5 separate regions of the Homo sapiens genome follow, and all the other regions are linked to region 1. The links are contacts of gene promoters, found by promoter capture Hi-C in human tissues and cell types (Jung and others, 2019). All regions are on one chromosome and are shown on one strand. The core of a region is centred on a gene start or on the middle of the fragment in contact, and the rest is flanking DNA. Distances in the headings are between cores, read along the strand shown. Region 1 holds the start of MPPED1 (metallophosphoesterase domain containing 1). Region 2 holds the start of PNPLA3 (patatin like domain 3, 1-acylglycerol-3-phosphate O-acyltransferase). Region 3 has its middle 15 kb from the start of PNPLA5. Region 4 overlaps EFCAB6 (EF-hand calcium binding domain 6). Region 5 overlaps EFCAB6 (EF-hand calcium binding domain 6).

What was found. Contacts are between HindIII fragments. The study calls those that stand out against the background at their distance.
Region 2: a contact is called between the fragment with the promoter of PNPLA3 here and the fragment with the promoter of MPPED1 in region 1, in 3 of the 25 tissues and cell types used here (H1 embryonic stem cells, IMR-90 fibroblasts and lymphoblastoid cells).
Region 3: a fragment that was not itself captured here is called in contact with the fragment with the promoter of MPPED1 in region 1 in 3 of the 25 tissues and cell types used here (bladder, lymphoblastoid cells and spleen).
Region 4: a fragment that was not itself captured here is called in contact with the fragment with the promoter of MPPED1 in region 1 in 2 of the 25 tissues and cell types used here (IMR-90 fibroblasts and dorsolateral prefrontal cortex).
Region 5: a contact is called between a fragment that was not itself captured here and the fragment with the promoter of MPPED1 in region 1, in 8 of the 25 tissues and cell types used here (IMR-90 fibroblasts, bladder, dorsolateral prefrontal cortex and 5 more).

Annotation. Positions count from the first base shown.
Region 1 is chr22:43,410,724-43,413,328 of GRCh38, reverse strand. It overlaps MPPED1 (metallophosphoesterase domain containing 1), which reads right to left and starts at 1,315. Exons shown (of 7, transcript NM_001044370.2): 1 at 1,171-1,315. The HindIII fragment of the contact is 18,974 bases long and covers 1-2,605 here.
Region 2 is chr22:43,922,524-43,925,128 of GRCh38, reverse strand. It overlaps PNPLA3 (patatin like domain 3, 1-acylglycerol-3-phosphate O-acyltransferase), which reads right to left and starts at 1,324. Exons shown (of 9, transcript NM_025225.3): 1 at 1,031-1,324. The coding sequence starts at 1,217. RefSeq lists enhancers at 22-764, 765-1,509. The HindIII fragment of the contact is 10,497 bases long and covers 1-2,605 here.
Region 3 is chr22:43,905,546-43,908,150 of GRCh38, reverse strand. No RefSeq gene overlaps it. Among named protein-coding and RNA genes, the nearest start is that of PNPLA5, 15 kb to the right of the region's middle. RefSeq lists an enhancer at 2,488-2,605. The HindIII fragment of the contact is 6,970 bases long and covers 1-2,605 here.
Region 4 is chr22:43,805,543-43,808,147 of GRCh38, reverse strand. The region is part of intron 2 of EFCAB6 (EF-hand calcium binding domain 6); the gene reads left to right. Among named protein-coding and RNA genes, the nearest start is that of EFCAB6, 5.5 kb to the left of the region's middle. The HindIII fragment of the contact is 3,918 bases long and covers 1-2,605 here.
Region 5 is chr22:43,732,760-43,735,364 of GRCh38, reverse strand. The region is part of intron 7 of EFCAB6 (EF-hand calcium binding domain 6); the gene reads left to right. Among named protein-coding and RNA genes, the nearest start is that of EFCAB6, 78 kb to the left of the region's middle. The HindIII fragment of the contact is 8,243 bases long and covers 1-2,605 here.

The DNA of each region.
Region 1 (2,605 bases), core at 66-2,565:
CCCCCCGGCGCCGCAGATCCCTGCTAACAAGTCTCCCAGTGCCATTCAACTCCCGTGAGCCAGCTCCGCCATTCAACAGCCAGCCCACTTTTGTTCCCCCAGTTTAATTTCATAATTGTTTGCCACTTAACAAGCTCTCCTCTGGGCCATTCAATAGAGCAGGGGAAATGGGGAGGGGGAAGGCAAAGAAACTCTGGGAGGGGAGCTGGGAGCCAGGCCAGCCCAGCACTGGGGAAGAGACATCCCAGAGAGGTCAGCTGGACAGGGGTGGGGGCCAGTTCCGGAGTGGAGCCTCCTGACACCAACTGGGCCACCCAGCTTGAGCCCGGAGAGGTGGGAGGGAAAGGAGCAGGGTGAGTTCCGAAGGCCAGGCCGGGGCCTGCCAGACTCCTGGGCACATCAGTGCTCTGAATGACACGCCTCTGGCCCTGCCAGGGTGAAGGGAGACAGCATGAATTCACGCTCCCGTAACATGTCCCAGAACAAACACACAGGAGACAGAACTGCTCCTTAGTTTGGGCATTCCATGATCAACATTCCCTTTGAGGGCTGGGACCTGTCTAGGTAGCCACTGAATCCCCTGGCCGAGCACATAGCAGACAGGAATAAATATGTGTTGAGTGAGTGGATGGATGGATGGATGGATGGATGGATGGATGGGAGGGAGGGATGAATGGATGGAAGGAAATGGATGAAGTTTCCAGCAATACCTAGCAAAAGTGGCCACTCGGCCAGCGTTCGTTCCCTATCTCTTCCCCCCCAAGTGCCAGCAGGGGCTTGGCAGCGCACACAGTAGGCTCTCTACAAGCGGGGGCTGCTATTGTTACCACTATCATCATCACTGGCACTCCACCAGCCCGCTGCTTCCACCAGCTACTCCGCCAGCAGCAGCAGCGACTGGCGAGCAAGGGAAAAGTTTCGCTGACCCCGCGGCCCCAGCCGGAGTCCCGCGCCCTGGCGGAGCCCCCTCCCGCCGCCGCCCGCTAGGCAGGCGGGGCAGCTGGGGTGCCCAGCCCGCTTCCCGCACCCGGCAAAGGCGGCCAAAGTAACTTTGCGGGCGCCCCTGCGCAGCGCCGCGGGCGTCGCCCAGCGCCTGGAGAGGGTCCCGGCCGCGCCCCGCGCCCGGCCTCCCGCCCGCGCCCGCCGCGCCCCGCCCGCCTCCGGTCCTACCTGGCCCCGGGCTCCTCTTCGGCGGCCGCGGCGGCTGCGAGCAGCAGCGCGCACCGAGGGAGGCAGGGGCTCCCGGGAGGGAGGCGCGCAGGGGCGGGGGCTCCTCCGGCGGCGGCCGCCTCGCCGCGCGTCCGAGGCTGCAAGTGGGAGCCAGACTCCTCCTTCGTGGGGCGGGGGGCTCCCCGCGCCCCCTCCGCCGCCCGCCCGCGCGCCGCGAGGCTCCGAGCCTCCTTGGCTCCCCCCGCCCGCCGCCGCCCGCCTCCCCACGCCCGCCCTCCCCGCCTCTCCGCGCCCGGCCGCCGGGAGGGGCGCGCTCGCGGCCTCGGTCCCGGCCCTTGCGCCGCCACCCGCCGGGGCCCCCGCCAGGCCCGCCAGGCCTCGGCCCTCGGCCCCCGCCCGGGCTCGGAGTCCGCATCCCGCTGCGGAGGGACAGGGAGCGCGGCCGCGGGCCTGGACGCGGGAGGAGGAGCGGGGCCCGCGCTGCGGAAAAGGGAGGGGGCCGCCCCACTGCGCCCGGCGCCCCTCTTGGCGCCCGCCCCCAGCCCCGGACCGGGCCGCGCGCGGGCTGGGCAGGGAGCGGGGCGGGGGCGCTCTCACCTCCGGATCCGTGGCCTCCGCAGCGGGCACCGCGTGCAGGGGCGTGCGCGGCTCCTTCCGGGGCGCCGCAGCCTTCGCCCGAGGCCCGGACCCCCTCCTGGGGCCGCCGGGGCACCCTGCTGTGGGCCCCTCCCGCCCGGGGTCTGGAAGGTCCCCCTCCGGAGACGGAGACACTCTGACCCCAGCTCCCAGTCTGAATAGGTCGGGGTCCTCCTCCTGGGCCACCATCTCTTCCACTCGGGAGTCACAGGTCCCCAATCCCGGGCACAGCAGGTAGCCTGCAGCGGCCGGAGCCCCAACGGGATGGGTAAACAAGTCAGGAACTCAGACGGCGCGACACCCAGTGTAAAGAGGCCCTGCCTTGCTGGGAAGAGCAGAGACCATCGCCTTCAGTGTCGGGGGTCACCCTGGGGAGTTTAAGGCCCTGTGGCTTCCAGCCCCTTGCCGCGGGTGGGACGGGGATTCCAGGGCCTTGTATAGTTAGGGTGCAGATCACTCTGGCCTGGGCCTCCCAGACTGAGAGGAAGATGAAAAGGGGCTGTGGCTCCTCAGAGGCCCAAAGCCCCTCAACAAATGCTTGTAGGGTCTCCCTTCACCAACACACACATCACACAATCCCCAAGGACACCCTCTGCGGGCCCCTCAGGCCTATTCTGCCCCTGAGGACTGCTATCTGGTGTGGCTTCCTGGAGGTGGGGACAGCCCAGTTGAATGAGTGTATGCCAGGAGAGAAGGCCTGGAAAAGACATCCAGGCCGAGGGAATGCGGCATGCAAAGGCCTTGGCATGTGAGTTCATTGGGGCTAGAGACAAAGGAAAAGCAAGGGAGGGAAGATGAG
Region 2 (2,605 bases), core at 75-2,574, 510 kb before region 1:
CAGCCCCCAGGAAGGGTCCCAAACACTGGAGGAGGAGGAGGAGGAGGAAACAACTTTCCTCTTTCAAGGTACCCCTCCCCACTAGACTCCAGTTAGCCTGCCCTGGAGGATGCCCAGGGTTGCCCTTCTGGGAGGCTACCCAGCCCCCAGAAGGCTGGGCTGCGACCCAGAGAGCGTAGGCAGCAGGGAGCAGTGGCTCACGCCTGTAACCCCAGCATTCTGGGAGGCCGAGGTGGGCAGATCACGAGGTCAGGAGATCGAGACCATCCTGGCTAACACGGTGAAACCCCGTCTCTACTAAAAAATACAAAAAATTAGCCGGGCTTGGTGGCTGGCGCCTGTAGTCCCAGCTACTCGGGAGGCTGAGGCAGGAGAATGGCGTGAACCTGGGAGGTGGAGCTTGCAGTGAGTTGAGATCACGCCACTGCACTCCAGCCTGGGCGACTGAGCGAAACTCCGTCTCAAAAAAAAAAAAAGAAAAAAAGAAAAGAAAAGCGCAGGCGCGGGGTGTCTTGAGTCCCTCAATCCCCAGAGGGAAGGAGCCCACCGTGGGGGACCGGCCAAAGCCCCACTCTTTGTCCGGCCCAGGGCAAATCGGCCCCTCGGCAGCTCAGCCCGTCCAGCCCCTCCCGAGAGGACACAGGGGACCCGGAGTCCGCAGGGGCCAGCACTACCCTCCGCCCCGGGTCCCGCTCCCTACTCCCCGTCGCTCCGAGACGCTCCGACTCTCAGTCCGGAGGTGAGGGTCTCCCTTCATGCACGGGCGCCTGATGGGGGTAGGGGTGGGGACGCACGAGAGTCCCAGGCTTCGGCCCGGACCGCTCGGGGTTCCAACGCCCCCTTCCCGGGCCCAGGAACAGCGCCCCCGCAGGAAGCATCTGCCTCGGAGGGGGCCCTCGGGATGCACCCCGCCGTGTCCGCGTCCGATGCCCGCTCCTCCAGGGCCCCGCGACCCCTGGGGATCCCCCGCTCCCCGGCCTAGGGGGCACCCACTCCGCACGTGGAGCCCGGGCAGCGTCCCCAGACGCACCCAGCGGGATACCGGAGAGGACGCCGACGCAGTGCAACGCCCCGGCCGAAGCGCCGAACAACATGCGCGCGTCGCGGAGGAGGTGCGGGGCGTGCTCGCTCAGGCAGCGGGTCGCCCCGACGTGGTAGAAGCCCAGGAAGCCGCAGCCCGCGAAGGACAAGCTCCAGCCGCGCTCTGCGTCGTACATGGCGGCGGCGGCGGGGCGGGGGCGCGGGTTAGGATCTGGGTCGGGATCGGGAATCGGCTCGGGTCCTGATCCGCAGCAGCTCCGCCCGGCGCCCGCAAGCGCTCTCTACCCTGCCTCAGTGTCTCGGCCAGGGCATTCCCAGCGCGACGTCAGCCCCGCCCCCCTCGGACCATGCAAATGAGCCGGCGGGAGGCCCAATGAGCGGGCAGGACGCCCTCCCGGGCGGGGCTTGGAGGGGGATGGGGGTGGGGACGACGTCTGGCGGGGGATGGGGGCGGGGACCGGGTCTGGGAGGGGGATTGGGGGCGGGGGCTGGGAGGGCGATGGCGGAGGACCTGTGCGGGGGGGTCCAGCCTGGGAGCTCCCCGCAGCGACTCGAGAGAAAGCATTTTTCCAAAACTCCAGCAGACACTGCATGTCCTGGAGAGAAACGGCTTCCTTCTGTTTTCCTTGACATCTGTTAAGTCGGGGGGTGGGAGGGGAGTCGCAGTTGGTGCCCACTTGATCCTTAACATCACTTTAACACTTTATCACGTCCCTTTTGACCCGGGGAGAGCCAGCCTAAAGCAGGCACCACCACCTGAAGAGTCTACTCTCTGCGTTGTTGCAGGCTTTCTGTATGATTGCCTTCAAGTGCTGGGGATTTTTTTCATTGAATGAAAGTAACAGGAAGTGTCCATTTCAAAGTTTCCTTTGTAAGTAAAAAATGTGAATGACGGGTGCTGGGGCTGGGGTCGGGGCCCTGTAGGAACTGGGGAGTGGGGAGTGCTTTGGGAAGCTGAGGCCTGGATGATTCCTGGTCCCTTAGTCCCTTAGTCCGTTCAGGTGCGAAAACAAAACACCTTAAAGCGGAGGGGCTTACAAACAAGAGATTTATTTCTATCTTTTTCCCCCCAGGCTGGAGTGCAATGGCACGATCTTGGCCCACTGCAGCCTCTTCCTCCCGGGTTCAAGGGATTCTCCTGCCTCAGCCTCACGAGTAGCTGGGATTACAAGCATGCGCCACCATGCCTGACTAATTTTTTGTATTTTTAGTAGAGATGGGGTTTCACCATGTTGGCCAGGCTAGTCTAGAACTCCTGACCTCAAGTCATCACCCACCTCAGCCTCCCAAAATGCTGGGATTACAGGGGTGAGCCACTTCGCCTGGCTTATTTCTCTGTCTCACAGTTCTGGAGGCTGGAAAGCCCAAGTTCAAGATACCAGCAGATTTGGTCCCTGGTGAGAGGTATGGCTCGTAGAAGGTGCCATCTTGCCACATCCTCACCTCTGGGCCTCTTTGATAAGGGCACCAATCCCATTCATAAGGGTGCCACCCTCTCATCAAATCACCTTCCAAAGGCCCCCGCCTCCAAAGATCATCACCTTAAGGTGTAGGATTTCAACAG
Region 3 (2,605 bases), core at 51-2,550, 490 kb before region 1:
AACCCCCTGACAAGTGAACCCTTGTGACATCCAGTTGACACATGTTCAACTCAAGAACTCACGCAGGGACAGTCGCTGCGGAAATGGGGACACCCTCCATTCAACCATTCTGGACACTTCCCTCTTCAGAAGGGCATCCACTGCCATAATCTTCTGTTGGAGAGAGGATTGTCTGAAAAAACAGGAGTCAATTTCACCCAGCGTTCTTTAAACACACCCAGAAGTGTGTCTACCGGGGCGAGGTCCCAGCCACTCACTGCAGACTGGGGTTCTGGGCTGACTTTGGAGACTGGCCCCGCAGGTTCCCCTGGCGCTGTGGTCCCAACATTGTGAGTCGGGACAAATATGCTCCTTCCCGCGGAGGCTTTCTTCAAACTCTTACAGGGGTTTGTGACTGCAGGAGGTAGAAATCATACTTTACCAGTCTCAGCCTTGAGGCTGACATGGAGCGGAGACTCTGCGTCGTGTGGAGCCGAGAGAAGTCAGTTCACGGGGACCTGGGGACTCCCCATCCCTGCATCTTCTCCACATTCTGCAGAAGCGTCTCTGATGCCCACCTTCTGGCAGGGCTCAGAGGCAGCCTGGGTTTTGCTGTGGAGCCCTGGGCCAGCCCCCACAGGAGGTTGGACATGGGGCAGGGTTCTCAGGTGCCCCAGGGCCTGACCACATCCCATGGAGGAGCCACAGCTGCTTGGTATGAGTATAGAGAGAGCCCACAGCCCACCGCAGGACTCAGATGCCATTTGGGAAGAGGGGGGCCTGAAGCACAACCTGTAGGAAGAAAGAGGGGAGGGGTCAGCAGGACATGAAACAACTCCATCCCCAACCCTCTGAACCAACAGGCACCCTGGCACCCGAACAGGTTGGCACCCATTGGGGCAGGGCCCAATCACTACTCTAGGCAAAGGGAGGGGACACCAATTAGGGCCCAGACCTCCTAATTAGAGGCCTCCGATCTGGCCCAGACCCACTGTGTGGCCTTGGCCGAGCCACGCCCTTGCTGCTTCAGTTTCCCCACCTATAAAGTGGGAATAAGAAGGCCAGAGCTCCAACGTCACAGCTGAGCCACACACAGAGGACCAAATGAAACAGGTGCCTGGGGTAGCTCTGCAGAACCTCCAAGCCTCGTGCTGTCCCAGGCACACTTTCCATTTGCTCTGTGCTAAAAAGTAAAGGCTTCTGGCTGCTACAGAGGTGAATTTCTTTTTTTCTTTTTTTTGAGATGGAGTCTCGCTTTGTCACTCAGGCTGGAGTGCAGTGGTGCCATCTCGGCTCACTGCAAGCTCCACCTCCTGGGTTCATGCCATTCTCCTGCCTCGGCCTCCCGAGTAGCTGGCAGTACAGGTGCCCGCCACCATGCCCAGCTAATTTTTTTGTATTTTTAGTAGAGATGGGGTTTCACTGTGTTAGCCAGGATGGTCTCCATCTCCTGACCTCATGATCCGCCCGCCTTGGCCTCCCAAAGTGCTGGGATTATAGGCATGAGCCACTGTGCCCGGCCGAATTTTTTTTTTTTTTAATGAAACAAAACAAAACAAAACAAAACTGAGGACCAGGTGTGGTGGCTCTTGCTTGTAATCCCAGCACTTTGGGAGGCCAAGGCCAGAGAGAATCACTTGAGCCCAGGAGCTTGAGACCAGCCTGGGCAACACAGTGAGACCCCCATCTCTTAAAAAAATTTATTTTTTAATTAACAGGACATGGAGGCACGCACTTGTAGTCCAAGCTAGTTAGGAAGCTAAGGTGGGAGGATCGCTAGAAACCTGGAAGTTTGAGGCTGCTGTGAGCCATGACTGCACCTCTCCACTCCAGCCTGCACAACAGAGGAAGACCCTTTCTCAAACATAAAATAAATAAATAAATGATAATTAAGGGCTTAGATTGAGGGGGCCTTGCACATCTGGGCTCTGCTGTTAGTTCTTACAGCTTAAAGGACACATATTATAGCACATCGCTGTAGACCTGTTGGGAGCATGTTTATCAGGAATTTATCTGTTTTCTCATTATCTAAAACACTGGGCTCCCACCCCCAGCCCCCACCAAAAAATAAACAATTATTCCATCCAACACTTACTGAGTCTCTGCAGCCTCGTGGAAGACAGATGGTGTGGCGGATGTGGGGATTGGCCACAGGGTCAGATGAAGCAAGCTTAACACCACAGACAGCTCTGTGACCTCGGGCAGGGCTGAGAAGTGGGGATGAGACCTCCTCCCTGGAAGGGTCGCTGTGACGATTCCATTAATGTCTCCACAGAACATGCTGGACAGCGCCTGGCATGGGGTAGATGTTCAAGAAACAGTAACTGCTAGCGTTACAATCACTGTGACTGCTAAGATTATAATTAACACTGTTTTCCAGAGGGATTCATGGTCCCTGCTTTCTGGAAGTTTCTGGGTTGGTGGCCAAAACACATAAATTTATAATCAAAAATAGGAAGAGCTCTAGCAGAGTAGCACAGGACAATTGTGGCTTTAATAACGAATTATAACGGCGTGTACTGTGACAGCACGCTACGTCGTAGGCACTGAGGGCAGGAGGTGCACCTGGATTTTGTGTCATGCTCATCATAGTAACTCCGTGAGATCCGTGGTACTATTACCCCTC
Region 4 (2,605 bases), core at 51-2,550, 390 kb before region 1:
ACAAGGAAAAAAGTCCATACATATTCAGTACAGACATCAACATCCATATTTTTCCTGAATATTTTCAATCCACTGTTGAATCTGTGGATGTGGAACCCATGGATATGGACGACAACTGTATCTCCCTTTTTCAAATGAGGAAACTGAGTCAGGAGGAGGTTAATTAACTTGCAAGTTGTTGTGGTGGATGGTGGAGCCAGTTTGACCCTATGCCTGCTTGACGTCAAAGGTTTTGATTTTTCCACCGTCCAAGAATGTAGATGCTCAGTAAATGGCCAATGTGTATATGGAAGTGTGTGGAAGGCTATAAAGGGAACTTGATAGTTGATATGTCCCAAAATATAACAGTCCATTTGATATCAGTATAGACAAGAAGATTTTTCTCAAGTGTTTGGATTTAACTGCCAAAACCTTTTGTGTTGCTTACAATTTTTTCCAATTTAGTCGAGTGATAATTTCCACACCCCTCTCCATGATACAGTTCCAGCAATTTTTGCTTCTGGTGCCATTTCTATTTGGCTGTGCACACTTTTTACTCTTGTGTTGAATTATGTTTTCTCTGGATGCCAAGGCAGATGGATGGCACTTTTGTTATGATTCTGATATAAATAGCACGTGTTTAAAACTGGACATCAATACTTCTCTGGCAAATAAACAAATATATCAGTGAGATAGCCTTCTAATTGTGTTTTTCCCATTGGTTAAGAAGTGTATTTGATGGTCTGTGACTTGATGCTTATTTTGGGGGTATTAGTTTTTATGATCCTTGCCAATTTCTACCTCACCAAGTTCTGAAGTAATCACATTCATTAATGTCTCAAAATTCTCTTTATTTTGAAAACCTCAGCTGAGGATGGTGTAAAGTCAGGGGTGAGCTACAGAACTCCTCACAGTGCCTTGGTCATACTCAGAACCTTGTTTAGCTTTCAAAATCAAGGGTAAAATTAGCCTAAGCTTCTATCCCTTGCAGTCATAGTGTTGATAACTGTGGTCCATCAAGAGCAAAGTTTAATGGGGTGCTTACTGCATGCTATGCCATGTTGAGTGTAAAAAGGTAAGTGGAGTCCACTGGAGGGACTTATTGTCTAGCAGGGGCCAACATAAAGGTCTGGAAGCAGAGAATCAAAGTGAAAATTGAGGTAGGACTAGAGGAACAGATGGGAGAATATTAGAACTTTTACTTCATATTTTACCCACCACATCTGCAGCCCCACAGCAAAGTGATGGAATTACGAGTGGCTTTTATCTTTTGGTTCTTTTCTTTATTAAATGAAACAATTAGCAAAGCACACCTATAAGACTTAAGTTCTTTGTAAAGGCATGATTAATTTTGTTTAAGGACAATAGGAAGGTCTCCTGAAGGAAGGGGATATACCCTCAGTTTTGAAAGATTAATTGAAGTGTGCCAGGTGCAAAAGAATGAAGGAAATTCTAGCACAGGCATGAACCAAAGCTCAGAAGTGAGGAACTACGTGGTGTGTTGGGAGCACTGGGTAAGAACGTAGCATGCCTGGAGGTAATGGCGTCTGGAAGGATCACCTGAAGCCAGGTGGTTAATTATATGAATGACCTTCTACCCCACAATTAAGAGTTTGAATTTCAGGCCTGGTGCAGTGGCTCATACCTGTAATCCCAACACTTCGGGAGGCTGAGGTGGGAGAATCACTTGAGCCCAGAAATTCGAGACCAGCCTGGGTAACATGGTGAAACCCTGCCTCTACAAAAATTAGGCAGGTGTGGTGGCATGCACCTGCAGTCCCAGTTATTCAGGAGGCTGAGGCTAAGGTGCAAGGATCACTTGAGCCCTGAAGGTGAGGCTGCAGTGAGCCAAGATTGCACCACTGCATTCCAGCGTGAGACCTCCTCTCAAAAAAAAAAAAAAATTGAATTTCAGTCTTTATGCCCTGGAGAAGCATTGCTTCTTCTCTTTTTTCCCTTCCCCTCCCCTCCCCTCCCCTCCCCCTCCTCTCCTCTCTTTTCTTTTGAGATAGTCTCACTTGATCACCCAGGCTGGAGTGCAGTGGTATGATCTCGGCTCACTGCAACTTTCACCTCCTGGGTTCAAGCGATTCTTGTACCTTAGCCTCCCGAGTAGCTGGGATTACAGGCACTCACCACCACACCCAGCTAAGTTTTTGTATTTTTAGTAGAGTCAGGATTTTGTCATGTTGGCCAGGCTAGTCTCGAACTCCTGGCCTCAAGTGATCTGCCCACCTCGGCCTCCCAAAATGTTGGGATTACAGGCATGAGCCACTGCTCCCAGCCCTATTTTTCTTTCTTAAAAGAAATTTTATTTATTTTTATTGATGCATAATCCATGTACATAGCTCCAGGGTACATGGGATAATTTAATACATTCATATAATTTGTAAAGATCAAATCAGTATACTTGGGATATCCATCACCTGAGATATTTGTCTTTTCTTTATGTTAGAACCATTCAAATTCTTCTTTTCTAGCTATTTTGAAATGTACAATAGGTTATTGTAATCTATAGTCACCTTACTGATCTGTCTAACACTAGGTGTTATTTCTTCTATCAGACCATATATTTGTACCCATTAATCAACCTCTCTTCATCCTCTCCTCCCCTCTACCTTTCCTG
Region 5 (2,605 bases), core at 58-2,557, 320 kb before region 1:
GTGGAGGGGTGTGCGGCAGGAGGGTGGGGTGTGCGGCAGGAGGGTGGGGTGTGCGGCAGGAGGGTGACGAACAGCAGAACATTTAGCTGCCTCATGGTGTTTGAACGCCACCACCACCTGCTCCTGACTCCAAGGGCAGCACACAGAAGCCTGCACGGGCATTTTTTTGAGCCTCCTATAAACTCCACATCATTTAGAAGAAGCCAAATGTTTGGCTTCTGTGACTACATGAGTTTTGAGTGAAAGCCACTGGAAGATGGGCCCGTGTCTAGCTTAATTTCTACAGTACCCAGCCGAGAGGTCCATTCCCTCTTCGTGCCTTTTCCCAAACACTTTTCTAAATACGCTCCAGACCATTAACAAAAGCACCAAGCCTCATTTCACCCGGAGCCCAAGCTTTTCGCATTGCACTGGTGTTCTAAGTTGCTATGAAAATGGGTCCCGGTAGCTCCTTGTATCTCATAAAGACAATGTGGCTGCTGCTAGAAGCAGAGTGGAAGAATTTGCCCCTGAGGCAAGGAAGTCTAGAGGGCATGTGACATGTCACTGATGCTGCAGGGCCTGAAAAGCAGGCAGACTTGAAAAAATAGCATCTGTTTCTCTTTTGAGTATGTTTTTCTTTTTTTTTTCTCTTTATAACCCACCTCAGAATATAAAACACATAATAGATGTTTTAATTTTTACATCTTTTCCGGCTGGGAAAGTGTCCAGAATAAGATCCAAACAAAACAAATTAAATAATTTTGTGCACGCAATTATAGAACAGAGGCAGCACTCTTCTAAAACAGGCAATCAAAAAACAAAACAGTGTTTTATTTGACAATAAACCTTGTGTTTGGCACTGCAGTCTCCAACCTAGTAAATCTATAAAAAATGTTACTGTCTGTTTCCCCATCTCATAAGTATTGAATAATAACTCCACAAATTTTTATTTGAGATTTTTTAAGCCTCAAAAACAATGCTATTTTCATGATAAGGCTTGAGAAAATGAACATAATAGAATTGCTTTCTTTTAGACTCAGAAACACAGAAGATCAAAAGTAGACCATTTCTTCAATTGCTTTAATGCTTTTCTTATTGAAGCTCAAGAATATACTCTTTCCTGGAGAAGCTGCTTCAGTATTAACTTTGTCTTTTTTATTTTTGAGCAAGAAACAATGCATTTTTGAATCCTCTCTTTTATCTAACAGCTTTCTATTTAATATCAACATTCGGCTCTTGGTGTGGTAGAAATGGCCCAGGCTTTGAAGTCAGGCTGCTGGAGGTGAAGTCTGTGCTCTCTCCTCCCTGGTTCTAGGGCCTCAGAGTAGCTCCTGGGCCTTGTCAAGACTCAGTTTTCTCTTAAAGAAATGGGGACTGGCCGGGCGCGGTGGATCACGCTTGTAATCCCAGCACTTTGGGATGCTGAGGCAGGCGGATCATGAGGTCAAGAGATTGAGACCGTCCTGGCCAACATGGTGAAACCCCATCTCTACTAAAAGTACAAAAATTAGCCAGGCATGGTGGTGCACACCTGTAGTCCCAGCTACTTGGGAGGCTGAGGCAGGAGAATCGCTTGAACCCGGGAGGCGGAGGTTGCAGTGAGCTGAGATCGCACCACTGCACTCCAGCCTGGCAACAGAGCGAGACTCCATCTTAAAGAAAAAAAGGGGGGACTGAGCAGCCCACCTCTCAGGGCTGGGATGAAGACTCAACAAAATGTAAACAACATGCCTGTGATGCGCTTGCACATAGTAGGGCTGATTTCACAGTGACCATCTCATCATCATAAAGACTCCGTGAATGCCCTTTACCCTCTGATGACCTGTTCCATTTAGGCAGCAGACTACTCTCCAACCTACATAAAACAAGAGGCCAGAGATACAATTACCACCAAGCCCCATACTTAATCAGGACATCTCAAAACCCATTGAGTGTTGTGTTTCCCATCTCCCTCCAGCCTACTCTCCACTGCCCTGGAGGCCAGTGTGTTTGATATAGGTGAAATCATTTATGAGCAGCCTTGTAAAACCAGCAAACAAATCACTACAGTTCAGCCTGTTGCCTGAGCAGATGAATGAAACCCAGTTCCAGGTGGTGACGCTGGAGAGGTTTATGAGCTGATTGGAGTCATACCCTTCTCCCCTCAATTGGGTCTTCTGGTTTCTCAAACTTACCACCTCATTTTCACAAGACAGAGACCGTAGATGAAAGATGAAGCTCTTTAGGGAGTTTCACTGTTAACATCTGGCAGCGATCACACCTAGAGATCATTTATCTTATTAAAACAATAGGCAAGAGTCATCAAAGTGGAAAAAAAGGTATGCATTGAAATAACTACATGGCATTACTCTTTGTTAAATTTGGAAAACAGAAAAATAAATACTTTAAGTGATAATTACCAAATTTTTAGAAAGCAGTATGAGATTAGATAATTATAGAAATCAACACATATGGAGATAATATAACCAAACATTTAAAAACCATCAATTTTTAGAAATGTGATAACACAGAAATGATCTAGAAAACCATTTATCAGGTGGAAGGCTTGAATAATAGAAAATTTATTTTAAAAATTCAAACATCTTATTTATCTTAACTTTAAAAAAAGGTTATCTCGGCTGGG